Regions from separate parts of the Homo sapiens genome. Here regions 1, 2, 3, 4, 5 and 7 are each linked to region 6. The links are contacts of gene promoters, found by promoter capture Hi-C in blood cells and fetal thymus (Javierre and others, 2016). All regions are on one chromosome and are shown on one strand. Each heading gives the region's core, a stretch centred on a gene start or on the middle of the fragment in contact. The rest is flanking DNA. Distances are from core to core; before and after follow the strand shown. Region 1 overlaps DLEU1 (deleted in lymphocytic leukemia 1). Region 2 overlaps DLEU1 (deleted in lymphocytic leukemia 1). Region 3 overlaps DLEU1 (deleted in lymphocytic leukemia 1). Region 4 overlaps DLEU2 (deleted in lymphocytic leukemia 2). Region 5 overlaps DLEU1 (deleted in lymphocytic leukemia 1). Region 6 holds the start of RNASEH2B (ribonuclease H2 subunit B). Region 7 overlaps DLEU1 (deleted in lymphocytic leukemia 1).

Region 1 (3,608 bases), core at 338-2,837, 770 kb after region 6:
CTTAGTACAAATATGACAAGTAAAACAGAGATACAGAGCCACACTGACAACCAGGAAGCTATCAGTGCTGCACTGTCTCATCATCCGATATTACATACCGAAATATTTAAGTATTTCCAAATTTTTCCATCAATCCAGATAGCACATCCCTAAATAAACATCAACAATGTCCTAAGTGCAGAAATCAAGCTGGTTTTTCTTATCCTGGATTCCAGAATGTTCTGACCACTGCCCTACCACCACCACCCTCTCCCACACACAGACATTTTCACCCTTTGAGACACTGCAGTGTGAGGAAGAGAATGGAGAAAGAAAGGGAAGTCTCATGACTTCTGAAGTTGAAAGAGGAATTATGTTCTGAAAAGGAGAAAGAAGATGACAGTTTTGCTTAATTCAAATATTGAGTAAATATTGTTGCTTAATCATTTTTTAAAAGAAACATTAGTGGCTATTTTTTTGGCACAACTGTTTTTAAATTTAATTTATAAGGATGACACCATGATGTAATTGAAACTTGTATCACACACAAAAATCACTTTGCCCCTCACGCATAACAACATCCTGCTCCCCCAAACCCAAATCATACCTTTCATAATACGGCCTTAACCTGTGTCCTTAAATACAAAGCAACCTAAATGCTAAAGTGAAGAGCCTAACACAGCTAAACTGGGAAAAACATGAGGTGGAAATGTATCTCCCTTGGAAAAGTAAGTAAAATGTATGTTAAGGAAATGGGTAATTCAGGGAACCCAAATATTCAAACAAATTCCCAGATGTTTGTGCTGCTGTCTGAACGTTTTAAAGAGGAAACAGCTTTTCATTACTTCATGAATCCTCCCTCATTGTGAAGACGATTTCAAAGCCTCCAGCATTTAAAAGGGAAAGTCCGTTCTCAGAGTCGTCGGATTCCCGCTGTGTCTCAGGCACCACAATGTTCCAGAAACTCACGGAAAAAGCTCAGGCCTGTAAACATGTCTGATCTGGATCTCCCACTCCTAAGTCTGTGTTTATATATTGATAATTAAGATGGATTTATGAAGCTCAAATAATATCACATTTCATATTTCTCTAATCAGTATCTCAAAACAATTCAAACAACAGTTATTTTAACATTAACAGCATGGGGAGGACAGCCACGAATCCCCACACCTTCCCCTGGCCATCACATGCTTGCACCGGGAAGTTGTAACTAGCTCTGGCAGTGCCAATGAACAAACGCGGTTAAAAATCAAGCAGAAAACGGCTGAATGTGCACGCTCAGCTACATGATTTTCACTGTCTAAAACTGGGAAAAAAAATCTCAAACAATTTTCACCCAATTTGGCTTGCCTTTCTCGTCTGTAAATTGCAATACTGCCAAGTTACAAGTAAAATATTCTGCCAATTTCTCAGTTTTGTGAGCAAAGAAAAAAAAGAAAGCATACTTTCCCTAATGGAATAAAGTGTGTGTCTCTGTGTTTGTGTGTGTCTGTGTGTGTGTGTGTGTGTGTGTATTTATATTTGATTAATTCAACATCATATGGGACTCCTGTCCAAATTTTTCAAAATACACATACACACACATACTTTGTGTCAGATCATGAAAAGTAAATCTCAAATCCAGATTGAACTCAGAGGGACTAGGAGAAATATTGTTTGTACCTCACTTTCTACTATTGTGCAAGTTAGATAGGATCTACCACTCTTCTAGATCTTTATTCTAACATGACTCATATCACAAATGTGATCGAGTGACTAGTTTTAGCCTCCACAAAAATGAATTTAACTTCTAGAAAAGGTCCCCAAAGCAAATTGACAGCCAAAGACAGTTTCAATTCAGAAGTGCTGGTAGTCATGGTGGTAGAGGTTCTAGGGTAATGTCTCATTGAGATGCGAGGATGAGGCTCTGAACTCAGGAAGGAAACACTCAAAATGTCCTGCAGGCATTATGAACAGCAGCCACTGAATCCACTAATATCCTTCCTCAGACTTCACTGCTTTTTAAAGACAGCAAAATATTGAGATAGATTTTTAATTGTAAATTCTGAAAAACAGCCACACCCAAGACTTTAATACCTCTCTTTCTTCTCAAAGTTAGGAAAGTGGTATGCTCAGTGTCAAATAACTAATGCTCATTAAAAATGGTCAGAATGCCGTTGCAGATGAAAAGTGAAGCTCTGGTGTGTGAAACAAGAACCCAAATGCATTGTCCACAATGTCTACTTCAGTACAGCCATTCTAGAATTTGCCCATGTGCATCAAAAGCCTTAAAAAGTAGCATGCCGTCCAGGCACAATGGCTCACACCTGTAATCCAGCACTTTGGGAGGCTAAGGCGGGCAGATCACTTGAGCCCAGGAGTTTGAGACCAGCCTGGGCAACATGGTGAGACCCCCATCTCTACAAAAAATGCAAAAATAGCAGTGTGTGGTGGCGCATGCCTGTGGTCTCAGCTACTCTGGAGACTGAGGTGAGAAGATCACCTGAGCCCAGGAGGTTGAGGCTGCAGTGAGCTGTGATCACACTCCACTGCACCCCAGACTGGGCAACAGAGTGAGACCCTGTCTAAAAAAAAAAAAGTAGCATGCCATTGTACCCCATAAATAGATACGCCTACTGTGTATGTACCCACAACAATTAAAAATAAAAATAAAAAAATAAGTAGCATGCCATAAATACTAAACAGACACACACTCAGACTACAGGATACTCAATGTAGCACTATTCATAATAGAAAAAAGAGGGGAAATAAGTCAAACTTTCAACAATAAGAACATGTGCCGTAAAACTTAAAGTGTAATAATAATAAAATAAAATAAAATAAAAAATTTAAAAAATAAATAAATAAATAATAAATAAAAGAAATTTGTTAGACAAAATGTGGTACATTCTTCCATCGGTGATGATACAGAAATTTAAAAATCATGTTCTAGAACAATATTTAACAACATAAAATATTTGCATATATTATGTAGTCATAAAAGCAAGTTAAAACATATTTGGATGTTATATATGTTATCCTGCTTCATAAAGACATGAACGGAGGGATAGACATCAATGACAGCATTATCTCTGGGTGATGGCAGGGAAAGTAAATTTTATTTCCTTCGTTAGGTTTTCCTGTATTTTCCAAACTTTCTACAATGACAATACATTATTTATATAATTAGATGAATAATTTTATTTTTAAAATTAGCCGTGTGTGATCCTTACAAGAAAATTGTTTTCTTTTTCCCTCTTGGTCCTATCCCACCACTCACCCCCTAAAATGCAGCCTGAATTTCACCAAGTTTCCTGAACTCAGGTGGGTACTTTTCCTGATTATGTCAAATGGAAACAGTCCTAGAGGAAATTGGACTGTAAAAACCAAATGCTTCATAAGCTCATGTTCAAAGAAGGCAAGTAAGGACCGTGAGTGGCCAGAAGAATCTGGTGATGAAAATGAGCTATTAAATGGATTCATTACCTTGGTTTTCACTAATGAAAATGTTAGCGGCTTTGTGTTCCTCAATTACATTTAGAGGCAAAATGATGGCATTTCATTCATTTATTCAGTCAGTCATCATATACTTACTGTGCACCTCAGATGTGGCTGCCTATTTCCAGACCTGGAATACACAGAAGGCAAGA
Region 2 (3,977 bases), core at 1,406-3,905, 700 kb after region 6:
CACAACTATTATTCAGTGCTTCAGGCAGTTGAAATTTCAACATTTGCTTCTCATCATTTTGAACAAACACCCCTAAGGAAAAGCCTGTTCACATTAGATGACCTCTGAGTCGGGTCAAATAAAGACAGCCCCATAAGTGGGATGTTCCAGAGAACAATCAGACAAGTCAAATAATAAAAGTCTCTAGGAATGGGGATTTGAAGGAACTCCAACCCTATTCTTCCCTCTCATGTGGCTACCAGCCTGCTGGTTTTCATCGTGATTTATGGGCTGTTGATTTTCAAGGCTACTATGGAGTTGGAGAAGGAGGGGATTGTAATAGGACAAGTTAAAGCACCACAAAGCTCTGTATTTTTTACCAAAAATCAGCCATTTTTCTTGAATAAATGCTCCCTGGATTGCTGCAAGACCTTAGCTCTAAGAAGCTCAATGTATCACAAGTAAAATAAATACACAGACTCAAACACCAAGACACATTATAATCAAGTTGTTGAAAACAAATGATAATGGGAAAATCTTTAAAGCAGCCAGAGAAAAGGGATATATTACAGATAGGAAAGCAATAACTTGAAGTACCACTGATTTCTCACAAAAACAATGCAAAAAAAGCTATAACCTAAAATTCTATGTCTAATTCTATATCCAATTTTAAAACTCCTTCAAAAATAAAGACAGATTCAGACAAAAGAAAGCTGAGAGAATGTATTGCCAAACATACTTCAGGTGGAAGATATACACGTAAATAATACAAATGATTCTTTTCTAATTTATTAATTCATAAAAATAATTATTTAAATAAAAATAATTATGATGTATTATATAATACATAAATCTCTGAACTCCTCTCTCTGTGGTTTTTCTTTAATCCAGCATGGCATGATAAACTAATAGACATTTCCAGGTGAGGTCACAGCAGAGAACAGAGACACTAGTTCTACACTGGGGCCAAAAAAACTCAAGAGAAATTCATGGCAAGCAGATGTTCTCTCTATTACCCACATAAACTTTATACTTCTTAGGTCTTTGATCTCCTTACCCTCCTCTTCTCTCATTAGAAATAACTTCCCCCTCCCCTCTCTGCTTTTCTAAGATCTGACTTTCTTTCAGGGTCCAATTCAAATCCTTCCTCCTTTACGCAGCTTTTCTAGGCTTATCCAAGGACAGCTAGCTAGTTAATGGCAGTTGCACAATTAGAACCTGGTCCTTCTCAAACTTCTTCAGGTGGTAGGTGTCATGAAAGTAACAGCATCTTTGCAAAACACTATTAAATACTGCTACACTTAGGTTTTTTTAAAGTTAATGTGTTATGCTTAATTGGATATTTTATTTTATTTTATTCCACGTTTTTGCCTGTGACACAGCCCTCAGGAGATCCTGAGAACATGTGCCCTCAGTCAGATCTTTCTTACACTAGATTCTAGTACAGAAACAAACACCAAAGCTTTAAAAAGTATTGGGAGAAAAGCATACATAATTCTGGGAAAGTGTTTTTCTTAAAATCAAGAAAAGACACTTATTTTTCCAATATTTTAGTGGCAAAACAACTTGGTCTTGCCAGAAGAACATCAGTGTTCTACAGTTCATTTTCTTTCTCTCTCTCTCTTTTTTTTTTTTTTTTTTTGAGACGGAGTCTTGCTCTGTCACCCACGCTGGGGTGCAGTGGCACGATCTTGGTTCACTACAACCTCCGCCTCCTGGGATCAAGCGATTCTCCTGCCTCAGACTCCTGAGTAGCTGGGACTACAGGCGCGTGCCACCACGCCCAGCTAATTTTTGTATTTTTAATAGAGACAGGGTTTCACCATATTGGCCAGGATGGTCTCGATCTCTTGACCTCGTGATCTGCCCGCCTCAACCTCCCAAAGTAATGGGATTACAGGCATGAGCCACCGCGCCTGGCCCTGCAGTTCATTTTAAAGATCATTGTACTGTATGCCATCCTAAAATTCTCCTTCACTTTCCATGACTTAAGGTTCAGGTGAGGTTCAACCCCATCCTGATCTCCAAGGAGATTTGCAGAAAAATAATTTTCTCAGTATTATATGGATCTACAATAAAGTGTACTCTTTGTCATCTGTCATGTCTGTGTCATGTTTCATTTTAGAACAAAGATACCTTAGATTTATAGCCTAGGACATAGCTAATTCCAATATCCTAGGTGTAAACCCTCTTAGTTACTCCATTAGATTCTCTAGTCTCAGACTACTTTCTATACTCTGCCTCTTAACACATGTGTTCAAATTAAACAGAAAAATTCCTGATGTGTTCTTGCCTGGTGGTCCAAATTTTTAAAAATAGAAAAAGAAAAGCCTTATGTGGAGAAAAGAAGCCATTTCCACAGGCATTCTCCTAATATGGCACTAACAAAGGATCCAGGGGCTGAAATATGGCTATATCTAGAGCACCCGTGGATCTCTAGGGGTCTGTAAAGTACTCCCTTACCTCATGGTGCTTGGCACCCAAAGAGGGGCCAAAATGTTTGCTACTCATTCCTGAAGGAAATCCACCGTTGTCACCTGAGGCCTGATGAATCACACATCACACGACTCAGCAATGCACTATGGTTTAAGCTACAACCAACTGCAAAGAAAAGCAACTCCATGTTCTCCATAGAGGAGACAAGGACACAAGGGTCAGACTGATTCTCTGAGGTAAGCTAGGCCCTTTTGGAAGAGCTACTGATTCAGAATTCTGCCAGTATTCAGAAGTTGGAATACAGCTGGTCTCTTAGTCACCGATAAGGGTAGAACAAAAAGAAATGAGTGTAAACTTCACCTAGAGAAATATAAGTTAGACCAAAGGACAAATCTGTGGAAGACTCTCAGCAGGATACAATGCTCATGTGTGTGCCAAGCATTTTTAAATTAGTCAACTGTCCTCACCAGAGGCTGTGGCTAACTAAACATCATATCACCATATCCAGGCTGGGCATGGTGGCTCACGCCTGTAATCCCAGCACTTTGGGAGGCCAAGATGGGCAGACTGCTTGAGGTCAGGAGTTCAAGACAAGCCTGACCAACATGGTGAAACCCTGTCTCTACAAAAAATACAAAAATTAGCCAAGTGCGGTGGTGCACACCTGTAGTCCCAGTTACTTGAGAGGCTGAGGCATGAGAATTGCTTGAACCCAGGAGGCCGAGGTTGCAGTGAGCCGCGATCCTGCCACTGCATTCCAGCTTGGGTGACAGAGTGAGACCCTGTCTCAAAAAAAAAAAAGCATATCACTATATCCAGAAATGGTGATAAATAATATATAAGTAATACCACCATTCAATATATTCTTTAATATATTCTCATACATTCTTAACATATTCTCATATAAGTTGAATTTCAATAATATATTCAAGAATGTATTATTATGCCTTCAAGAATATATTACTGTAACTTCAAGAAAATATTGTTATGACTGGGGAACTAATATAAAAGTCTTGTTCAACCCAAAAATGGTTCCTGGGATATTTCTATACAATGTAAGAATTCAGAAATTTGGTTTTAAATGACTACTGAAATAAACCTTGTGAGGTAAGCAAGCTACATGAAGACAAATAAACCAGTGGGATTTTTTTTAAGTATGTTTATTCAAGTTGGGGAAAAGCCACATAATTCACTATATGTCAAGCCTAAACTTAGATTTTTCATCATCATCTGACAATATGTGGCAAGCACAGTTTTTGCAAAACAGTCAAACTCCCAATCAGTAATAAGGAATCTTTTAACTCAAGGTTGCATATTGTTCTTTGGCTAAAAATAGTAGAAAATCTCAATCCTTTAAATACAGAATAATCTCTCTGATCTCTCTAACTTATTTTACTTCCTGTGATCACATAATACTGAATATCTATTACGTGCCTAGTATGTGGAAAGCTTTTCTCAGCATCAAACCAAAATTTTAAATATCAAGAAAAAACAAAAAACCCTCTTAAAACTTTTTACGCTCTAAGAGGGAAGAGAAATAAAAAATAAACAAATTTTAAAAA
Region 3 (4,122 bases), core at 24-2,523, 750 kb after region 6:
GTTAAGTGGAAAAGTTTGCTCCCTTCACCCAAAAAAAATCTTGCCTCTGCAAGCACTAGCCTGGTACCTTCCAGAAGGTGAATAAATTAACTTGCCAATACCACTTAAGGCAAATGGCTTAATGTTTTCACCAGATCTGACCAGGCCCCAACAACAAGGAGTGGGTGGAGATGAGCGTGTATTTTCATTTATTTCACGAGCCCTATTCTCTGTGGACTTGTAGTTTCTAAACCTAGGTACAAAAAAAAGCTTTAACTGCATGAGTAACTTTTGTTTTGTGGTACATTATTGTTCACTTTCAATAATGTAACTCAAAAATGACTTATAGGATTACAAGAATATGGTATAAAATTTCTAATACAATTCAATGACCCTTAAGCAAAAACATGATCACCATCAACTGAAGTTATCCTATACAATGGCAGGAAACTGTCAAGCCCAATTATGTGAAAATGCAAGAGAAATGTTTAGACAAGCTCCTCACCAAGACTTTCCATTGCTCATACAATAGAGGAGGATTAAGATCAAAACTATAATATTATATCAGTTTTATGATTATAAAATATGCTATTCAAGTTAGTTCAACGTAGCATTGTCTGTCCTAGTACATATATTAGGATAACATTATAATGTATTTCTAAGAGGCAAATCACAGAAGCCACTTACCAATCAAAATGTGTAACTCCAGGTGAAGCTAGACAAAATTATTGATACAAATTTTCTCCAGAAGAGTGATTTAGGAATGCAAAATACTCTAGACACACCACCCATCCACAGTTGGTGTGTCTTGCTTTATTAGATGCAATCCATTTCCTCAGACACTTGTTCAATTGAGGTCTTGTAAAACTATTAGATTAGCATTGGGCATATAGTAAGTGCACAAAGAAATTTGTTGTTGTTGTTGTTGTTGTTGTTGTTGTTGTTGTTGTTTTGAGACGGAGTCTCGCTCTGTCACCTAGGCTGGAGTGCAGTGACGCGATCTTGGTTCACTACAAGCTCTGCCTCCCGGGTTCACGCCATTCTCCTGCCTCAGCCTCCCGAGTAGCTGGGACTACAAGGGCCTACCCCCGTGCCCAGCTAATTTTTTTTTGTATTTTTAGTAGAGACAGGGTTTCATGAAAGAATGAATGAGTGAATTGTTGGATAGACTAAGTATCTTCAATAAATGCAGAAAATGCCAGTGTAGAACCATATTACACTTTCTTCAAAAATGCTATTCTACTCTGCTTGTTAATTATCTCCTTAAGATAATTTCACTTTTTTAAATGTTTTAAGGCATTTGTTTTACTAGCAATGAATTAAATGTTAGTTAAGAATCTGCACGTCTAATCCATTTAGATATAGCATGTATTTTCTTCCTAGTTCATACATCTCATAAAATGCAAAAAAAAAGTATAATCCTGCTAGCATAAGTCATTAGCAGACAAAGATAAAAACTCATGAGCTCTGTGTTTTATTTTATCTCACATTCTGCTTCATAGTCCAACCAAGTTTCATAATGAAAATTTTTCTCAGCCGACGCCTCAAATGCTTTATTCTTCAAATACAATTGATTTGACCAATATCGCTGTGGTTTGGAAATGTTTTTCTTCCTGTTGGTCTCTGCCATGATCTCCTCTGGATATAGTTCAATTAGATGCCTTCTCACTTTTTCACAAGTTGCCTGTTATTGTAAAAGTTTGGGAAAACTTTGAAAAAGAACTATAAAACGTTTTCACTGTCAATAGAAAAAAATGGATTGCTTGAGCCAGACACAGCTCCCCATAGAGCTAACCTTTTGATCCTGGAATCCTTTCATGCGCTTAAGTCTTCACTAGCGTCAATGGGAGTGTTGTGTATGCAAGGGCAGCAGGATCAAGTTCAGTCTCTTCTTTAGTACTCTGTAGCCAAGTGGGGTAGCCAGCTGAATCTGGTTTAGTTAAAAAAAAAAAAAAAAAAAAAAAAACACAACACTTTCCTGATGCTTTGAAGTTTTTTGGGCAGTGTAATAATATCAGGATTTGTAGGACGTTATTTTGCATAATCCTTAATAAGATATTCTTATGGCTTCAAAAAGTTAGTGGGTTAAGAGAAGCAAGAACCTCCAGCACTCATAGGAAATATTTTTTTAAGTTCTGGGTAGAAATGGCTCAAAATGCATCTCGGGAAGATACATAATTATAAGACTGTCCAAATGTGTGTTCAGGCAGGAATGCACCTAAAACTATTCTTCATAGATGGATTTCTACTCTATCTTTAAAAGATAGAGATATAATATAATAATCTCTCAAAAGCTCTGATGAAAACAAAGAAGCTTGCTGGAGGATTCTACTATGTGTGTGGATTAAGTAACTCTGTGACTAATCCAACTATTTGAATCAAAACAAGGCATTCCTTTAGAATCTTTATCACTCTAACCTCACACTCACTCACTGATGAGGACTTTTTTCCAGGCAAGGTCAAAGGGCTGACCAAGGTGATTCTGCACCACCAAATAGAAAGGAGGCTGGAGAAGGGAGAAGTGCAGCGGCAGGATACAGAAGCCACAAAATCTCTCTGCTGGAAGCCAGTTCACCTTATTATTACCAAGAAACTGAGGTTCACTTTCTGGCATTTTGGCCTGAGCATTAAAATTTTAAATTAACACCATTGAACACAACCTACTCTTTTTTTTAATGAGCATTTTATTGTCACTTTGTGGAAGGGTACTGAAACCTCTGATTTAGTATAATCATATGATTATGATTTATTCATATTGGGAATTCAGCAGCATGGGCAACAACAACTCGGGTCTGGGGGGAAAAAAAACAGCCTCACTAAATAAGGGATGGTCCCACCACTAAATATGGGGTTAGGAGTGAGTTTCTCTTTGGTTAAATACACATGCACACATATTTCAGTAGCACGACAAAGCGAAAACAAACAGAATAAAGGTGAACATTGTACTTGGTAGTTGGAAATGAAGTGTGTCATTTTAATATATATGAATAACTGATTTTTCCCCACTTTTTGGAATCCAGATGTTGGTAATCTTTGCCTCAGAATGACGATTGCCTTTTTAAGAAATCTCTTAAAACTTTAGTAGTGGTCCTCACACAAAAAGACACTGGGTCTGGGCACGGTGGCTCATGCCTGTAATCCCAGCAATTAGGGAGGTTGAGGCAGGCAGATTACCTGAGGTCAGGATTTCGAGACCAGCCTTGCCAACATGGTGAAATTCTGTCTCTACTAAAAATACAAAAAAAAAAAAAAAAAAAATTAGCCAGGTGTGGTGGCGCATGCCTGTTATCCCAGCTACTCGGGAGGCTGAGGCAGGAGAATCGCTTGGACCTGGGAGGTGGAGGTTGCAGTGAGCTGAGATCGTACCACTGCACTCCTGCCTGGGTGACAGAGTGAGACTTCATCTCCAAACAAAAAAAAAAAGACACCGACCTAGAGGTAAAAATATTCAAATTCCCTACGTTGCTACCTCTGACAAATGAGAACTACGGGTCCACACAAGTTCACTTATCAGTATACCCACCTAAAAGATGCATCTTTCCCTGTTTGGGGGCATATGATAGAATTATAAAAGTAAATGACTTCATTAAGATAAAATAGGTCTCTGGTGTTTCAAGACAAAACCACTGGACAAAGAACAGACAATGCATAAAAGAAATACCTAATGGCCAATAAATATACAAAGAGATGCTCAGCCTTGCTTGTAATGTAAATAATGCAAGGAAAACCAGTACAGCAATTTTTCTATCAGGATGGCAAACTCTAAAAGACTGACAGCAATGTAGGCATGCAGGGGAATGTGCGGAAACAAACACCTTTGTGTATTGCTGATGATAATGTAAATTTGTATGACTTGAGCATAAACTCAGCCAACTCAGCAAGTTTATCACTATCAAATTGTTAAATGTTTCCACCTTTTGACCCAACTTTTAAGGTTTCCTTAAACAGATAATTGTACATGTGAACAAAGAAGATGCAAAAACATATTAATTGCCATGTGATTTATAATAGTGAAAAACAGAAAATAAATTATGTCCACTAATAGAAGATTGGTTAAATAAATTATTGCTCATTCATTCAACCATTGGTTGAGGGCCTACTGAGTGCCAGATAGTATTCTATATACAATATATATAATGCATC
Region 4 (3,990 bases), core at 996-3,495, 840 kb after region 6:
AACAAGAATGCTGCACTGGGCTGAAACATACAAATGCTGCTGGGTGTTTATAATCTGATTGTTCTGTGCTGTATAAGGATCAGAATACAGCGGTGGCAACCTCAGTTGAAATGTTCTAACTTATATAATGTGCTGAAATTTTTAAAGTCTTCCCTCTTTTTCCTAGGTTTAATAATGATAGAATGAAGACCACAATAAAAGAGACCTCTACTTAGCTCAGCAATTCTTACCTTGTAAGTATTAACTCTGAGTCTCCCTATTACTGTTTGGTGTCATGTTCTGGTTTATTTCTGATTTTTTTCCCTGCTTATCCTATTATGGTAACTTTCTAACCTCTCCTAGCCCCTCTACACGTTGAGATTTGATGTTAATTAATAGTTTAGAGCAAGAATAATGCCATTGCCTTGGTAAGTTATTTAGGGAAGTATTTTATACCCAGGCCCTATAATCTCCAAGTCTGAGAATCACAATTTTGAGCCCTTTTCCTTCAAAGGAATTAACAAATAGGTAATTGTCTTTTTTAGTACTCATTATTCAGGTTTATTGGTCTTATGGTTTTATAAATTGAGAGTATTCTCTCCACTTGAGAAATGATTTTGTAAAGTCTGTTTTTAATTTCATTAGGTTACACTTGAGACTTCTTTGTGAAGAGCTTAACATTTAGCTGTTAAAACTTGAGGAGGTGGCCGGGCGCGGTGGCTCACGCCTTGTAATCCCAGCACTTTGGGAGGCCGAGGTGGGCGGATCACGAGGTCAGGAGGTCGAGACCATCCTGGCTAGCACGGTGAAACCACGTCTCTACTGAAAATAAAAAAATTAGCCGGGCGTGGTAGCGGGCGCCTGTAGTCCCAGCTACTCGGGAGGCTGAGGCAGGAGAATGGCATGAACCCGGGAGGCGGAGCTTGCAGTGAGCCGAGATCACGCCACTGCACTCCAGCCTGGGAGACAGAGCGAGACTCCGTCTCAAAAAAAAAAAAAAAACAACTTGAGGAGGTGGGAGAAACATGAAGGCAATCCCTTTTCCTTCCCTTTCTTTTGTTGGTTTTTTTTTTTTTCATTTATTCAGTACATATTTATTGAGTATCTACCATGTTCCTAGTACTTTTCTAGGAGCCAAAGATATAGCAGTGAACAAAACAGATAAACAAGTAAGTACATAAATTAAACGATTTCTGACATGGATTCAAAGTCAGAGGTTTTGGGTGGGGGCCAGGACCATGCATCTTTAGCAAGCTCTCCCTGAGTAGGATGGCAGCAGATGATCTGTGGTCCATGCATAGTGTAAAGAAACCGCTCCGAAGAGCCAGGGAGCAGTGTCCAGCTGCAAGTCCTCCTTTCTTCTGTCAGGGAAGTTTGCAGAAGTGAATCAGTGGATAGCAACACCAAAGTGATACCTTCAGGGTAGACAGGAAGGTAGTCTGTTTAGTTGAAGGTCAGGAGTAGTCACCTTAATTATTCAAGACATCATTTCTCGCCCTGGATTGCCCCATCGCCTCCCAAGCTAAACCTCAGATATTTCCTGCAAATATCAAAAAGAGGATTTTTCTCCTTTTTCCTTCCTTTTATATATATACATGCATACCTCTTTTTTAGAATAAGAAACATTTTTCCCCAATTCATTTAACTTTTGAGACACTTAGAAATTCTGAAAGAATAATTTTAACAAGTTAACTGAAATTAATATTATGCCTCTAGAAAAACTCACAAGATCAAGGGCATATAAAATGCGCAGGATACTTATTTCCATAAAAGTATTCGAGACCTTAAAATCAGTTACCAAAAAATGTCATTTCCATCCATTCCTTGAGCTAATTCTGCATCTCTAAAGAAAAACTCAAGCGCAAGACTTTCTATTCTTGATGTTGAGGGCATGTCTCTGTTTAAATGAAACTAGTGCTTCAGATGCTTTTATTACATTATCTCACAGTGACTCAAATAATGTGTATATGTTGGGGATGGCCTTATGATCATAGACGATCAGCCATTGAACTCAATAAGGTGAGAATTTTTAAGTGGGGGATCAATTAAATGTTGAAAACTGTTAATAATAAGCCAGTTTGCAAAGTAGTAGTCAAATGCCACAGGTCACTTTCTTTTTCTAATTTTCTCCCGGTTACATTTTTGTCTCTGGAAAATTAGAATGGAAATATCTGCAGATCCCTAAAGAATCCTATATAGTACAGGCTTGGATTCCTTAATTAGTGCCTTGGAAGCCAGCTCAGCCCTTCTTCAACTTAACTCTTTAAAAAAAGAAGTCTTTTTAATTCGTACTACACTCAGAATGGAGGGCAGTCCACTTTTCAACAAGAAATAGGTATCATTGAATTCTAACAGATACATAAGCACAGATAATATCACATTCTTCATTTCATCTCCTTTATAAATTTCTAAGCTAGCAGTCTTTCTTGGATACTCTCCAGCATCTTTTAAACATAGGCCATTTATCATATTTCATAGTTGGAATGCTTTCTGTTGTCTGTTCTAGGTAGATTCCCCTTAATCTTAGATTCTAAAATGGTGATGTTTCCAATTAAACAATACCCAGAATAATAGGTACATAGTGACTGGCAATAGTCAGTGATGCTGTGTGTGATTGTGTGTTCCCCTTCTATCATTTTTTTAATGTTTGTTTAATGCCATTTATTTTTTAAGATGGGATATATATTTTAATTAGCTGGGCGTCGTGGCGGGTGCCTGTAGTCCCAGCTACTCAGGAGGCTGAGGCAGGGGAATGCCGTGAACCCGGAGGGCAGAGCTTGCAGTGAACCGAGATCACACCACTGCACTCCAGCCTGGGCGACCGAGTGAGACTCCATCTCAAAAAAAAAAAAAAAAAAAAAAAAAAAAAAAAAAAAAAAGATGGGATATATATATATATACACACATATATTTTATATATAATATATATTTACATATATATAATATATATTTACATATGTTATATATAATATATATTTACATATATAATATATATTTACATATGTTATATATAATATATATTTACATATATAATATATATTTACATATGTTATATATAATATATATTTACATATATATAATATATATTTTATATATAATATATATTTACATATATATAATATATATTTACATATATTATATATAATATATATTACATATAATATATATTTACATATATTTTATATATAATATATATTTACATATATAGATATATTTTAGATATCTATATATAGATCGATTTTAGATATCTAGATAGATAGATGTATTTTCTTTTTTTTTTTTTTTTGAGATGGAGTTTCGCTCTTGTTGCCCAGGCTAGAGTGCAATGGCATGATCTCGGCCCACCACAACCTCCACCTCCCAAGTTCAAGTGATTCTCCTGCCTCAGCCTCCTGAGTAGCTGGGGTTACAGGCATGCACCACCACGCCTGGCTAATTTTGTTTTTTGTTTTTTGTTTTTGTGTAGACAGGGTTTCTCTGTGTTGGTCAGGCTGGTCTCGAACTCCTGACCTCAGGTGATCTGCCCGCCTCAGCCTCCCAAAGTGCTGGGATTACAGGCGTGAGCCACCTTGCCCTGCCTAAGATGGGATTTTTTTTAAAGCTGTTCATTTGTGGAATGTGGATGTTCTAGAAGTTGTAGAACAGTGATGTTCATGTATACAATCCTGTCAAACAATGGCAGTTTGGGGTTCATTTTTACAAATTAAATATAGAGATGGAGTATTTTTCAAGTTTATTTTTCAATTTAGAGATCTTAAACTTTCGCTGCTTAACAAAAAATTCAGAAATAATTATATGTCTTTATTTCTTTTTCTTTTTTGAATTATTTTTATTTTTCACATTGCATTTTCGAATACAGACACTTAAATTATATATTTCTGTTTGTAAATGTAAACATATGTTTACCTGCAAATGTAAATACATGTTGACATCTGTTATGTAAATTTAAATATATATTTGGTGCTTAAAAAAATCTCAAAACATTGTCAGCAGTTAAGAATATTACATCTC
Region 5 (3,882 bases), core at 892-3,391, 720 kb after region 6:
CTGCCACCTCTGCTGCCACCACTTTCAACCTCAAAGGTTCAGGAAGAGATGAAATCAGTTACCAAAACGTTACAGAAACTATTTTTTTTTATATCTGAATTTTAGTGTGTGTCAGTTAGAAATTCTGTGCCAAGTATGGAATCCTTCAATGGAGGTAGCTTATGTGGGTAGAGGTTTATTGCATTCACATGTCAAACAATAAGGCTTATTACTTCATGGTCAGAAAATAGCTGCCTCAGCTCCAGGCAATACATTTGTTTTCAAGCCAAGATGAAGGGGCAAGCAGCACAGCAGTTTCTCTGCTCTTTTATTAAGAGCACAAAAGCTTTCCCAGGAGTCTTCCTTCCCCATTCCCTTCTTCCCAGTGGACTTCTGCTGCTTAAATCTTACTGGTCAGAACAAGGTTACTCAGCCACCCCTAGCTGCAGGGAAGCTATCCTTATCCTTAATAGAAGATATTCTGATTGGCTGAAACCAGTCAAGATCCATTGCCCGGGCTGAGTACATTGCTGCCAATATATGAACAAACTCTGGGTTCTGTTAGGGAGGAAGACTTGGGTAATGGAGAATGGGCAAGCTGGCAGCAGAGTCTGGTGCAGTTTAAGTCAATATTTCTAACCCCAATTTACACAGCAGATAAAAAGTAGAAGGACTATTTTAAGTGGAAAAGAGCCAAGATTGGCATTTGCTTGCCAGAGCATAAGATGGAAATGCAGGAAGAGCCTGGGAAGTGTCTCTCATATCTAAGGCAGAATGCTACCAGGGGTACAAACGAGTAGGGCCTGGACATCTTAGCTGCTGCTGGACCTCCAGGTCCCACCGGCCATCATGCTGACTGAACAGCCACTGTAAGAACAGGAAATGGGGTACAGACAATGAAGTCCAATGTTAAAGAGGTTTCCCTGTCCAGGAAAACAAAGGAACAATAGACTCCTACGCTTAATATTTTAAGAGTTTTGTGGTGCTTTCTGAGGACCTGAGGCCCACTTGCTCTTCCCTTAGGACATAGCTCATGTTTCATAAAGCTGGGGCGAGCAGTAGGACTGAGAAGAAAAGTGAGAAGATTCCTCCTTCCCTGCCTCTAATGAACAAACCTTGGGACTAGCAAAGGTTAATTACTTGCCTGATCCAGGCTTATTCCTTGAAAAGGAGCTGAATGACTAAACATTTGTGAACATTGAGTCGCACAGCCCATCAGCAAATGGAGCCTGCCCTACTCTAACCAGGCACATGACCATCACCTGGCCAATGGACTAATTGTAGGACTGATGCTGGATTCAGAAAAAAAGCAAGTCAGAGCTGTTCAGGAGGCTACAGGGGCTGGGGGAGTGAGAATTACAACTAAACAGGACTTAAATGTAAAATTAAAAGTTCCATGTTAGCTTTTCTGAAATAAAATATAAGTCTTTTACTTGAATAAGCTGAATAAATGCAAATGATATCAGGCAGAAAAGATCTGAGATTTGTCTATCCACTGCAAAAATTACACATGTGAATTGTTTATTCTTCTAGTGAAACATATCTAATGCTTTTCCCCTCTCATAATATTAACTTGTTTAAAGAACATTTATACGATAACATCTTGAGTTCTTTGTTTTCTAGGTTTCTCAACCAAAGTTCTCTTCTTGAAGTCTTTGTGAAAAAAAAAAATTGCTGCCTCTTTAAACTAGTGCTCAGGCATGAAAATGTTTAACTAATTTCATTTTCTTGATAAAGTTTATCTGTGATCAGAATTGAGTCATACCAAAAATACTTCTATAAGATTTGACCTTTTACTTAAATCCCACATCGAGATAATATACTCAAAATGGTTATCAATAAGACCTTTGTTTTTTAAAGCACATCTAAAATAAATCACTTTTTAAAAGCAGAAAACTGTTTTCAATTAAGTCTTTTACAGGCAATCAGCTTGAAAGTTATACTTGCCCTTGTATTTTTTATGTATATAAATTATGCCCAAGAGTGCCATGATAGCAGCATTATGCTAACTATGCCTTACCTTTGTATTTACTTCTTGTCAAAATAAGCTTTACAAATTAATTGGTTTTAGAGTGCTTTATGACCAATAATGACTGCATTATACTAGTGCCAGAGTAAAAGCAATGCAAGCAGCAACTACTTTTTCTTGTTATTGAGAAACACCTAGTCTAATTAGATAAGGATAATTAATTCTTAATTTCTTCTGATGAAGAGTTTTCTTGCAGTAGAACAACTTTACCCCATTCCAACAATGTTTATCATTTAGAAAAGCTTTAAAGAGACTTCTGCTTGAGTCTCTGACCCAAGTAATCCTGTGATACCTACACAGGGCTAACTACTAGTCTTGGCCTCCTGTATGTTTTAACCACCTCACCCTTTCATCAATGAATCCTATCTGCTCTTCAGATGCTGGGAGCATACTAGATAAGTAGATAATTTTAAAAGTATCCATTCAAAAATAGGCATTTCATGCCTATAATCCCAGCATTTTGAGAGGTTGAGGCAGGAGGATTGCTTGAGCCCAGGAGTTTGAAATGCCTGGACAACACAGCAAGATCATGTCTCTGGCTTTAAAAAAAAAAAAAAAGGCATTTCTCTTATTTTTTAAGTTTCCCATTTTTCCCCATTTGCTTTCGCCCTAGATCCCATCCATGTCAGTGGCTGCTTTTATTAGTGGCAGATTTTGCATTTTCCTTAGAGATTTACTAAGAATATCCTAGAGGAGCAAAATTCAGAACTAAACAAGAAAAAAAGAACAAAATCCAGGAATACAATAATTATATATATATTTTAATCTAAATTACTATATAATGAGTTTGCTGCTTCTAAAATTAGTGATAAGGGGCAGTTTTTTAAAAATTAGATCAAGGTTGGAAGAGATGTTTACCCAAAGGACCTAGAGATGAGAGAAGAGTCAGCGTTTGGAAAAAGCTGAGAATCTCATTAGCCCAAAGGGGTGAGTACAAGGCAGGAAAGGAAAAGCAAAGCTGAACTTTGAGAAGTTGGATAGATAGGAGCAAAGAGCAGTCCAGGATAGGGTCTCGAACAACTAGGACACCCTTTTCCAGTCCCCAACCACATAGAGGAAGGGGAAGAAGAGAAGAACAGTGACCAAGCTGAAAGTCTGAATTGAACGCACAAAAAACAGCAATAAGAATGACCATAGACTTCAGGTAAAGCCATTCTTCCTCTCAAGTCTTTCTTTTGGACCAGTTACTGGGCCCAAGATCTCTGAGAAGTTTTGCCACAGAAGTAACATCAGTACAACATGTTAGCATCCCGGTTAACTGGATTAAGAATATTAGGAGCTACATCTCCAGCCCTCTTGGATAAGCCACCTGCAAATGAAAGAGCCCCATACCTAGAACTTGCCACCCAAAAGATATGTCCCTGTGCTGTGGCCCAAACAGCTCCACCAACTGGACGAACCTATAACTTGTTGACAGCTTTCTCTCTCTGGTTCTCAGATGAGGAATGATGATAAAACAAAACCAAAAGACATCTTACTGAGGAAGATCAGCTCCAGTGGATTTCTCTGAGACAACCCAAGTTAGATGGAGCTAATGGGAAAAAACACAGGAATTCTTTAAACTATCATTCAAGCAAAACATCTCTCCTAACTGTTCCTTTTAAAGTAGCTAGACCTGTTAGAGATTTTATTGAGTGGATATAAGCACTTTCTACAGAAACATTTTTTTTAAAGTACATCACCTTTTCATAGAACAGAGGAAGAGCTGTCACATCAGTTGCTGATGCCAAGCACAGCAATATAAAGTATATCCCCTACGAGTTAGATGAAGCAGAGGAAAGGGATCAAGAGATTAATATACCTCTTTGACAAAAGCACCCAAAATAAATAATTTTATTATTTATTGCAATTCTCTAATGCCTTATTTTTCACTG
Region 6 (4,175 bases), core at 1,470-3,969:
GCCCACCACAAAGAGGGCCAAACATGAGGCTTGTCATTCTTATATCCCAATCTAGTTCCCAAAGTCTTTACTGCAGTGGTTCCTGGGGTGGGGGCAGTGGTTTCCGGACCAGCAGCATCAGTATCTCTTGGGAACTTGTTACCAATGCACATTCTCTGGCCCCAGCCCAGGACCTACTGAACCAGCACCTCTGGGAACTGAGGCCCAGCTCCCCAGGTAAATGATGCCCTCAAGTTTGAGAACTAGTGTTGCACTGCAGTCGCTGTCAAACCTTGTTGTACCCTCAGAGCCTGCAGGTGGCGCTAAAGGCCAGAAGGAAGAATTGCAGGAGCTGGTAGCTCAAGTTTTTAACTGTTAAGAGTTCCTGCCCCCCTGACCACACAGCTCTTTCTAGCAGTTCCAACAGCTGCTCAGCCTCCCCCAATGCCTTAAAAGGTCACAGTAGATCTCAGCTCTGAACAGAAACTCAACTGAAACTCTTCCCACAACCCAGCAGTAGATATATTAAAACCTACAATTTTCAGGGATACAATCAATATTTAATTCTTTTGAGGGTTTTGTGTTTAATACAAGGACACAAACACACGTATAAAATGACGATGTCAATACTGATTAAACAGAACAACAAAATAAGAAGCTCAAATTATCATCAGCTATTGTGTATATCTGAAATAACAATAATGCACTTGATTCTGAAAGAATGATTAGAGTTCCTACTCTGAAAATCTAATTGTCTTGATGTGACGAAGTGAGAAGAAAGGATGATTTTTCTAATGAAAAGCATGTATACGGGTAGCCCTTTGCGAGATTCTGTCAAAACCCTGAATTTTGCATTAGCTGTTTTACCACCCAAACGTTTTTACCGAGGATGTGCAGCAATGGGAACTCTCATACACTGCTTGTGGGAATATAAATCAGTATAACCACTTTGGAAAACCATTTAACATTGTCAACTACAGCTCTACACACAAGTACTAGAACCAGCCATTCCACTCCAGGGTATACACCCTAGAGATATGAGTGCCCATGTCTACCAAAAGCCGCCTAAAGGAATGCTCTGAGAAGTGTAACTTGTAATAGTTGCAAACTGGAAACAACCCAAATGTCCATCCACAGTAGAGATACATAGTATGGATACTCATACAATTAAACAGAAGCAGCAATGAAAAAACTAACCAACCAACCAAACAACTGCTACAACATGAATGAATTTCACAACAAGGATGAATCTTTCAGAGTGAAAGAAGCCAGACACAAAGGGTACACTCTTATTCAAACAGGCAAAACTAATCTCTGGTGACAGAGGTCAGCATAGAGGTTCCTGGGGCTATCTAGGAACAGGCATGAGGCGTTATTGGAAACAGTCTACATCTTGAACTGGGGGATGGTTACTAGGGTGGTGTATACGTATGAAAAGTTCAGTGAGTTGCATACTTAAAATCCGTACACTTTATGTATGTTTTATTTTTAGAGGCAAAAAATATTATTGACAGCCTGTCATGTAAACATTTTCAATAACCATCATAAAACTCTAAATTCCTGGGAAAGAATATTGTTATCAGAGTATATTTACTGCCACAAACACTGCATTTGCTGAGCTAAAGTCAAAACTTAATACAGGGAACAGGAGATGTTCCTTTTTTCCAATGTTACATATATAAAAAGACCAAACCTTTCTGGCTTGCACTCCCTAGGCCAAATTCCTTTAACTGTGTCATTTAATCGGTCCTTCCTTGTGTGGCACTGGCTGTCCACTGTCCCAAGCCCTCGCATGTCCTGGATGGCCGGTCATCATCCACACGGGGGCTGAAAGGCCCGGCTCCAGCACTCCTGTGGTCATCATCCTGCTGAATCGCTTTGAACTACCCTTGGCCTAACCGCGACTCCCATCCCGCTTCCCTCCTGCCTCGCCACTGCAGGCCTGTCCCTTTGCTTTCTTAAAACTGCGCACCGTCTGAGGCCACTTCGAGCCTACTGGATCCCTGGTTCCAACCCAGTAGGATCACAGAAGCAGGGCCAGCTGCCAGGTAGGGGACACCAAGGGCAGAAACCTCCGGGGCCCGCAGCGCACCGGTGACCGCGAACCCGCGTGGCTCCCCTCAGGCTGAGTCGGCTTCCACCCTCCCACCCGAGCCACCGGGGATCAGGGCCCGGGAAACACGCTCGGTCCTTTTCGGCGCTTCCGGGTTTGAAAACCGCGGCTTGCTATGACGTGTGACCAAAATGCGGGGCCAGCTGTCCCAGAGAGAATCCCATCCCGCGCCGGGCCGGGTAGTGGGAGCCACCGGGGTGGGGGGCGGCGCGCCCGGGGTCGCGGGCCGCTCCGCCAGTTCTTGGGCCGACCCCGCCGCCCGGGCGCGCGTGTTTACCTGAAACCAGGAACACGTGCTGCCGGGCGCCAACCCCGTCCCCGCAGTCCACGCCAGCGGCCATGCCGCCCGCCTCTTCCGGGGCGCCGCAGGCTCAGCGCCGCGGGCCTCAGTCTCCCAGCCCCGCCGAAAATGGCGGGAGAAGGGTCTGTTCCGGGTGGCGCGGCGCGCTGAGGGACCGGCAGCGCCCGGGAGGAGGCCCAGGGACCGAATTTCGTTTCGTTTCCGAGACCAGCCTGCTGCTCGTGTTACGTTTTTAAATTTAGCGCCAGGCGAGGGGCTCTGAATGCCGGCCGGTGGCCGCAGGCAACGGGAAGGGGCCGCGGCCTCTCCCTCGCGGCTCCGCTAGTGGTAGGTGCTCATCGCGCGCCGCAGGGCGCCGAGTGACGCGGAGCGGGGCGGGGTCGCCGGGGCCCCGCGCTCTGTGGCTGCACCCAGCGGCCCTCCATGGTCTAGCCAGCGGGCTAGGATTGGGTCTGCGGGGTGTGTGCCCGGACAACGGGTGACGCCCGCCACACCCCCGGGGCCGGGGGACTCACCTGGAGCTAGTCCGTGTTAAGGACAATAGCAGTCACATCGGAATCCGAATGCAACTCTTAGCCATGGTCCTCAATTATTTGTGAATATATATTGGTCATCAGTTGCATTCTGTGTTGCTATTGATGTGAGAATATGTGTGCATTGTGAGCTACAAGGGATGTCCTCAATTTGGACTCCGTCCTCATCACTAAAAGAGGTGCACAGTTTTGGGCTCAGAATATGAATTTGTTGTTTTGGAGAACGCTGTATACTGAGTTAAAAACTTAGACATTTATTTAAAAAGTGATGTTTAAAAAGTTAGAGCCATGAAATTTGGGGATTTAAACTTTTAAAAATAACATTTTAATTGAAAAGTGTTGTTTGGTACATGGTTTTTAAGAAGAAAGTACATATTCCTTTCATACTTTAGAGAAAAGCACGGGCCAGGCGCAGTGGCTCAGGCCTGTAATCCCAGCACTTTGGGAGGCCGAGGCGGGCGGATCGCCTGAGGTCAGGAGCTGGAGACCAGCCTGACCAACAAGGTGAAACTCCGTCTCTACTGAAAATACAAAAATTAGCTGGGTGTGGTGGTGCACATCTGTAATCCCAGCTACTACGGAGGCTGAGGCACAAGAATCACTTGAACCCAGGAGATGGAGGTTGCAGTGAACCGAGATCCCACCACTGCACTCTGGCCTGGGCTACAGAGCTGGACTCTGTCAAAAAAAACAAAAACAAAAAAATCCACAAAAACCTATTTTTTTTTTTTTTAAAGAAAAGCATGATGTATCTCTTTTATCCCAGATCCCAGGGGTAACTGTTAACATTTCTTCTCTATTCTTGCAGAATTTTTCCATGCAAAAACAAGTTAATGTCTTATTTTTGCACAATTGAAAGAATAATATACATAACTCATGCACTTTGCTTTTCATGTTTAATCTTGAAGATAGTTAAATTTAGCAGCACTAAATTTATCTCGGCCCTCTGAAAAGGTTTTTAACTTCAAACCTGTTTCCCATGGGGTGAGACCAATACAGCTGCAGTTGATTGCAGGACACAGCTGGTGGAGAAGAGGCCTTTCTGGCTGAGGAAAGGCGCCTCTTGCCAGTTTTGGGGCAAGGAGCAGCAGATTGGTACTGCTCTGATCTTCCCTCTCCCCCAAAACGACTGTAGAAGATGCTGTGGTGTATAGCACAAATCCCCAGGCACACCATCGTCTTACTAACAGCTACAGGAGCACCCCATTATTCCTGTAGGATGGGATCCAAAACCCCCAGTGAAGGCCTA
Region 7 (4,000 bases), core at 1,469-3,968, 670 kb after region 6:
GGGTTTCCTTAAGCTCCTTATCAGGTCATGCATACCCAAAGGGCAGGGGGCCAGGAGGAAAGTAATGACCAGCAACCCTGGGTGCCTGGACGGTACTCCCTACACAGCACAGTCCTAGCCAGAGCTGTTACATGACAAGCCAAAAGCAGCTCACAGAGGCTGCATCCTGAAGGAGCCTCATTAGGACTGAGGCCAGGTTCCTACACCTGAACGGGGCAAGACAAGAAGGGACAGTCAAGAAGAGAAGCCAGGAGAATCAGAAAGTGAGGTTCAAAGGGAAGACACAAAGGCAGGATTGACAGGGACAATCGAGTCAGAGTTCAGGAATTTGCAGAGAAGTTGGATGTAGATCATGGCCTCTGGCCTGGAGGGAGAGAGGGGAAGAGCAAAACTGCTGACAGGGGTCGGGCACAGTGGCTCATGCCTGTAATCCCAGCATTTTAAGAGGCCCAGGCTGGAGTATCACTTGAGCTCAGGAGTTCAAGACAAGCCTGGTCAACGTGGCAAAACCCCGTCTCTACTAGAAAATATAAAAATTAGCCAGGCATTGTGGCAAGTGCCTGTAATCTCAGCTACTCAGGAGGCTGAGGCAGGAGAATTGCTTGAACCCAGGGGGTGAAGGTTGCAGTAAGCCAAGATTGTGCCTCTGCACTCCAGTCTTGGTGAAAGAGCAAGACTCTGTCTCCAAAAAAAAAAAAAAAAAAAAAAAAAAATAGTGGGCCGGGTGCGGTGGCTCAAGTCTGTAATCCCAGCACTTTGGGAGTCTGAGGCGGGCGGATCTCCTGAGGTCAAGAGCTCAAGACCAGCCTGGCCAACATGGTGAAACCCTGACTCTACTAAAAGTACAAAAATTAGCCAGGCGTGGTGGCACGTGCCTGTAGGCCCAGCTACTCGGGAGGCTGAGGCAGGAGAATCACTTGAACCAAGGAGGCAGAGGTTGCAGTGAGCTCAGATCATGCCATTGCACTCCAACCTGGACAACAAGAGTAAAACTCCATCTCAAAAAAAAGTGCTGACAGGGAGTGGACAATGATGATGATTCCTCTTAGAGGAGGTGAACAAATTCATCTCCAAGATTCCTGGGAGTCCATGATAATAGAGTGATAATAAGAAATAATGATACAGATGAGATGATCAGCTTTGTTTATTAAAAATCTTGCCATTGGAGTCCTTCAAAGATAAACTTGGGGACTATAGTTTTACTACTGTCTAGCATATGATAGTGTTTAGTAATATAAAATGTCTTTTTACTTGCTTGCCCTGTAACAAAAAGGGAAACAAAGATTTTTTAATGTCTGGTTATTTCCAGTGATTACAGTGTCTAGTCTTCTTTGTTATTTTTTTAAGCTTTTGTTATAAAATTTCTCAATCACACACAAATGTAGAGGAGAATAGTCTAGTAGACTCCCATGAACCCATCACCCAGCTTTAATCATTTTCAACATTTTAGTCCAGCTTTTTTAAACCCTTTATTTGACAGATTTTCATATATTTTTATTCAGCAAGTATTGATTGAGCAACTACAGGTCAGGCACTCTTCTAGTGCTGGAGATACATGTATAAAAAAAGAAAATAGCCAAAAAATACCTGCTCTCCAGGCCACAAGGAAGCTAAAGTGCTTACATTCACTGACTCAAACTTTCCTCCAACAGGCTTCTCACTGCTACATCTTCATCCTCTCCTTCTGCCTTCTTTCTAGTTTCTGTCTTGGGTTCATCTGGTTTGGTTTTAGCATATCTGTGTTCTTACCTAAACCACTCCAACTCTTCTTTGTAGAAAAATGTAGCGCTAAATTGATAAACTAAATACTTCACAGGGACCTTTAATGACTGACATGAATCTAAATTTGCCTACTAGAGAACTCTCTATGCATAGAGAAATGTTCCAAATCCTTATTTCTGGCCAAAGACCTGTGTATTATTTTTACTTTCCCAGATAATTACCTTTAACATTATTGGATTTTTCACATACAGTTAGATGATTTTCACACTGATAATTTGGGAATTACATTGCCCCTAAGTTAACCCTTTTCTACCTAAAATTAAATTTTGCTGCTACCCCAAAACATGAGGAAATTGAATGCCCCCAAGGGCTTTGTAGTTCAAGTCATAACACAGTGGTTTAACACCTATAGAACCCCTCTCTGATCTTTTGGGATTATTTTTATCAATAAAGTGAAAAAATGAGGGAGGGAAGAGGGAATACAGGAGAAAGGCATCACACTTTCCTGATATTTCTCAACATAACCAGCAACTACTTTCCATTCCTTTCAATGCAGCCACTAGGCCCTGAAATACAGTGCACAGATGGTGTTAGAAAGGACTCAGGCCTTGTGTGACCTTCCTGGTCAGTGATTCTTCCTGGCCCAAGTCCAAGAAAGACCTCCACCCATGACCGTGAAGTGAAAACTTATCTAACTCAGATACTACAACTCCAACCATCTCCAGGTGAAAGTAGTCCTTTGGACCAAGAGACTACAACCTTTCTCATATGTGATATTTTGTAAGGTGCCAATAATAGGCTCAGCAATGGGGACCCCAGGTCTGAACACAAAACTGTGAAAGAAATTATTGAACTCTGAGAATGTCACCTAATAGAGAGACTGCTGTGCTCAGAGTATGAGACATGGGTCCTAATCCCAACTGTACCACTGATTTGTTGTGTGACAACAGGTGAGTTTATCTGTCCACACTCCAGTTTCCTCACCCGTAGAAAGGGATACCCACCCTGCCAACTTTACCCATATATTATGAAGACAAGTTAGCAGATGACTTAGTGCTTAGAAAAGTTAAAGCACTTGGAAATGAAACACATTAGTATGCAGTCTCCTTCCCCATCCCCTTTCTACATCTCATTTTGTGTTTCTCTTGCTGAACCTCTCCAAGAAACCCTCTTAAGCAATGAAAGCAAAGCCTTCTCTTTGAGCATCAATTCTGTAATCCTCCAACTGTATTTGGAAGGGAAACAAATTCTCCACCATGTTAAAGGCCTGTTTGTCCTCCTCTTCCCCCTAACAAAAAGAAAAATTGCAATAACTATCACTATTAATATATATATATCACTATGTTTGTCACTATTAAGCATATATCAAGTAAGTGACTTGCATTGTCTCATTTGATCTCCACAAAAACCCTCTTTGATAAGTATGAGTAGCCCCATTTTACCAATGAGGAGACTGAAAATGAGTTTAAATAATATGCCCCATTCAAACATCCTAGGGACTTCCAAATCCCAGTGGTGGAAGAAGGAATCCCTTCATGTCAGAATTTCGGGCACTCTAGCAAGCCTGAAATCATGTTAATAGCAAGTTAGAGAACTTTAGTTGGAGGATTGGAAGGCTTGCTTTTCTGCATTATCCTTCAAACCTCCCCTCAGGGAGCACCTATGAAAATAAATCAGTTCCAGAGTTCTCACCCAAACTGCTTTCAGGTTAGACAGCCAAGGATTCCAGAACAAAAGTATCCAGTGCAATTTAAAAAGGGGAGAGGCACACAACAGGGAAGCATGTCAAAGTGTGCACAAACAAGCTCGCCCTCCACCACCAGGCGTATTTACAAGTGACCACGTAAATTGTGATTTAACGGTCCAGCATGTGGTATAAAATGTCAGCAACTTTCACAGAGAGAGAAGTCTGGTTTTTACACCCACACAGCACTGTACACTTGACTTGAGCGCCCCGAAAATTCCCCTAAGCATTTTTATCATTACGTATCACTCGTATCACTACACAGTTTAGTCAGCCAAACCATATCCTTTTCCAGCTTTAGATAAATTGCCTTCTGACAAACTGCACACAGACAAAATATCACGAAGTCCCCAAGTTGTAATCTCTACCCTGTTTTTCTACAGAGATGAGTAAGATTTTCCTATTTAGTTTTTTTAAGTACATAAGCAGCAGATGCATGTAATATACGAATATTGTCATTAGTGTGTTTACTCGCTTTCTTGAAATATATCTGAGTTTTATCACTACCTTCGCCCAGATTATGCCACTTGCCAC

Evidence for each region. Contacts are between HindIII fragments. The CHiCAGO score rates a contact against its expected background, and 5 or more counts as called.
Region 1: a fragment that was not itself captured here is called in contact with the fragment with the promoter of RNASEH2B in region 6 in 7 of 17 cell types (fetal thymus, monocytes, neutrophils and 4 more); the score reaches 8.7 in fetal thymus.
Region 2: a fragment that was not itself captured here is called in contact with the fragment with the promoter of RNASEH2B in region 6 in 1 of 17 cell types (M0 macrophages); the score reaches 5.1 in M0 macrophages.
Region 3: a fragment that was not itself captured here is called in contact with the fragment with the promoter of RNASEH2B in region 6 in 5 of 17 cell types (total CD4 T cells, total B cells, endothelial precursors and 2 more); the score reaches 5.8 in total CD4 T cells.
Region 4: a contact is called between a fragment that was not itself captured here and the fragment with the promoter of RNASEH2B in region 6, in 6 of 17 cell types (naive CD4 T cells, monocytes, naive B cells and 3 more). The highest score is 7.6, in naive CD4 T cells.
Region 5: a contact is called between a fragment that was not itself captured here and the fragment with the promoter of RNASEH2B in region 6, in 2 of 17 cell types (total CD4 T cells and M1 macrophages). The highest score is 5.3, in total CD4 T cells.
Region 7: a fragment that was not itself captured here is called in contact with the fragment with the promoter of RNASEH2B in region 6 in 4 of 17 cell types (neutrophils, total CD4 T cells, monocytes and 1 more); the score reaches 6.5 in neutrophils.

What each region holds. Positions count from the first base shown.
Region 1 is chr13:50,138,509-50,142,116 of GRCh38, reverse strand. All of the region lies in intron 2 of DLEU1 (deleted in lymphocytic leukemia 1), which reads right to left. Among named protein-coding and RNA genes, the nearest start is that of DLEU2, 15 kb to the right of the region's middle. RefSeq lists an enhancer at 560-1,233. The HindIII fragment of the contact is 7,969 bases long and covers 1-3,608 here.
Region 2 is chr13:50,209,516-50,213,492 of GRCh38, reverse strand. All of the region lies in intron 2 of DLEU1 (deleted in lymphocytic leukemia 1), which reads right to left. Among named protein-coding and RNA genes, the nearest start is that of DLEU2, 86 kb to the right of the region's middle. The HindIII fragment of the contact is 2,423 bases long and covers 1,444-3,866 here.
Region 3 is chr13:50,154,614-50,158,735 of GRCh38, reverse strand. All of the region lies in intron 2 of DLEU1 (deleted in lymphocytic leukemia 1), which reads right to left. Among named protein-coding and RNA genes, the nearest start is that of DLEU2, 31 kb to the right of the region's middle. The HindIII fragment of the contact is 2,044 bases long and covers 252-2,295 here.
Region 4 is chr13:50,064,340-50,068,329 of GRCh38, reverse strand. It overlaps DLEU2 (deleted in lymphocytic leukemia 2), which reads left to right. Exons shown (of 14, transcript NR_152566.1): 5 at 167-233. Among named protein-coding and RNA genes, the nearest start is that of DLEU1, 16 kb to the left of the region's middle. The HindIII fragment of the contact is 6,390 bases long and covers 1-3,990 here.
Region 5 is chr13:50,189,156-50,193,037 of GRCh38, reverse strand. All of the region lies in intron 2 of DLEU1 (deleted in lymphocytic leukemia 1), which reads right to left. Among named protein-coding and RNA genes, the nearest start is that of DLEU2, 66 kb to the right of the region's middle. The HindIII fragment of the contact is 223 bases long and covers 2,030-2,252 here.
Region 6 is chr13:50,908,335-50,912,509 of GRCh38, reverse strand. It overlaps RNASEH2B (ribonuclease H2 subunit B), which reads right to left and starts at 2,719. Exons shown (of 11, transcript NM_024570.4): 1 at 2,370-2,719. The coding sequence starts at 2,433. RNASEH2B-AS1 (RNASEH2B antisense RNA 1) reads left to right here and starts at 1,798. Exons shown (of 3, transcript NR_046552.1): 1 at 1,798-2,027. RefSeq lists silencers at 1,965-2,014, 2,225-2,464, 2,475-2,904. The HindIII fragment of the contact is 8,311 bases long and covers 1-4,175 here.
Region 7 is chr13:50,236,795-50,240,794 of GRCh38, reverse strand. The region is part of intron 2 of DLEU1 (deleted in lymphocytic leukemia 1); the gene reads right to left. It overlaps LOC124900337 (a long non-coding RNA gene), which reads right to left. Exons shown (of 2, transcript XR_007063796.1): 2 at 1,451-4,000. Among named protein-coding and RNA genes, the nearest start is that of DLEU2, 110 kb to the right of the region's middle. The HindIII fragment of the contact is 2,738 bases long and covers 1,350-4,000 here.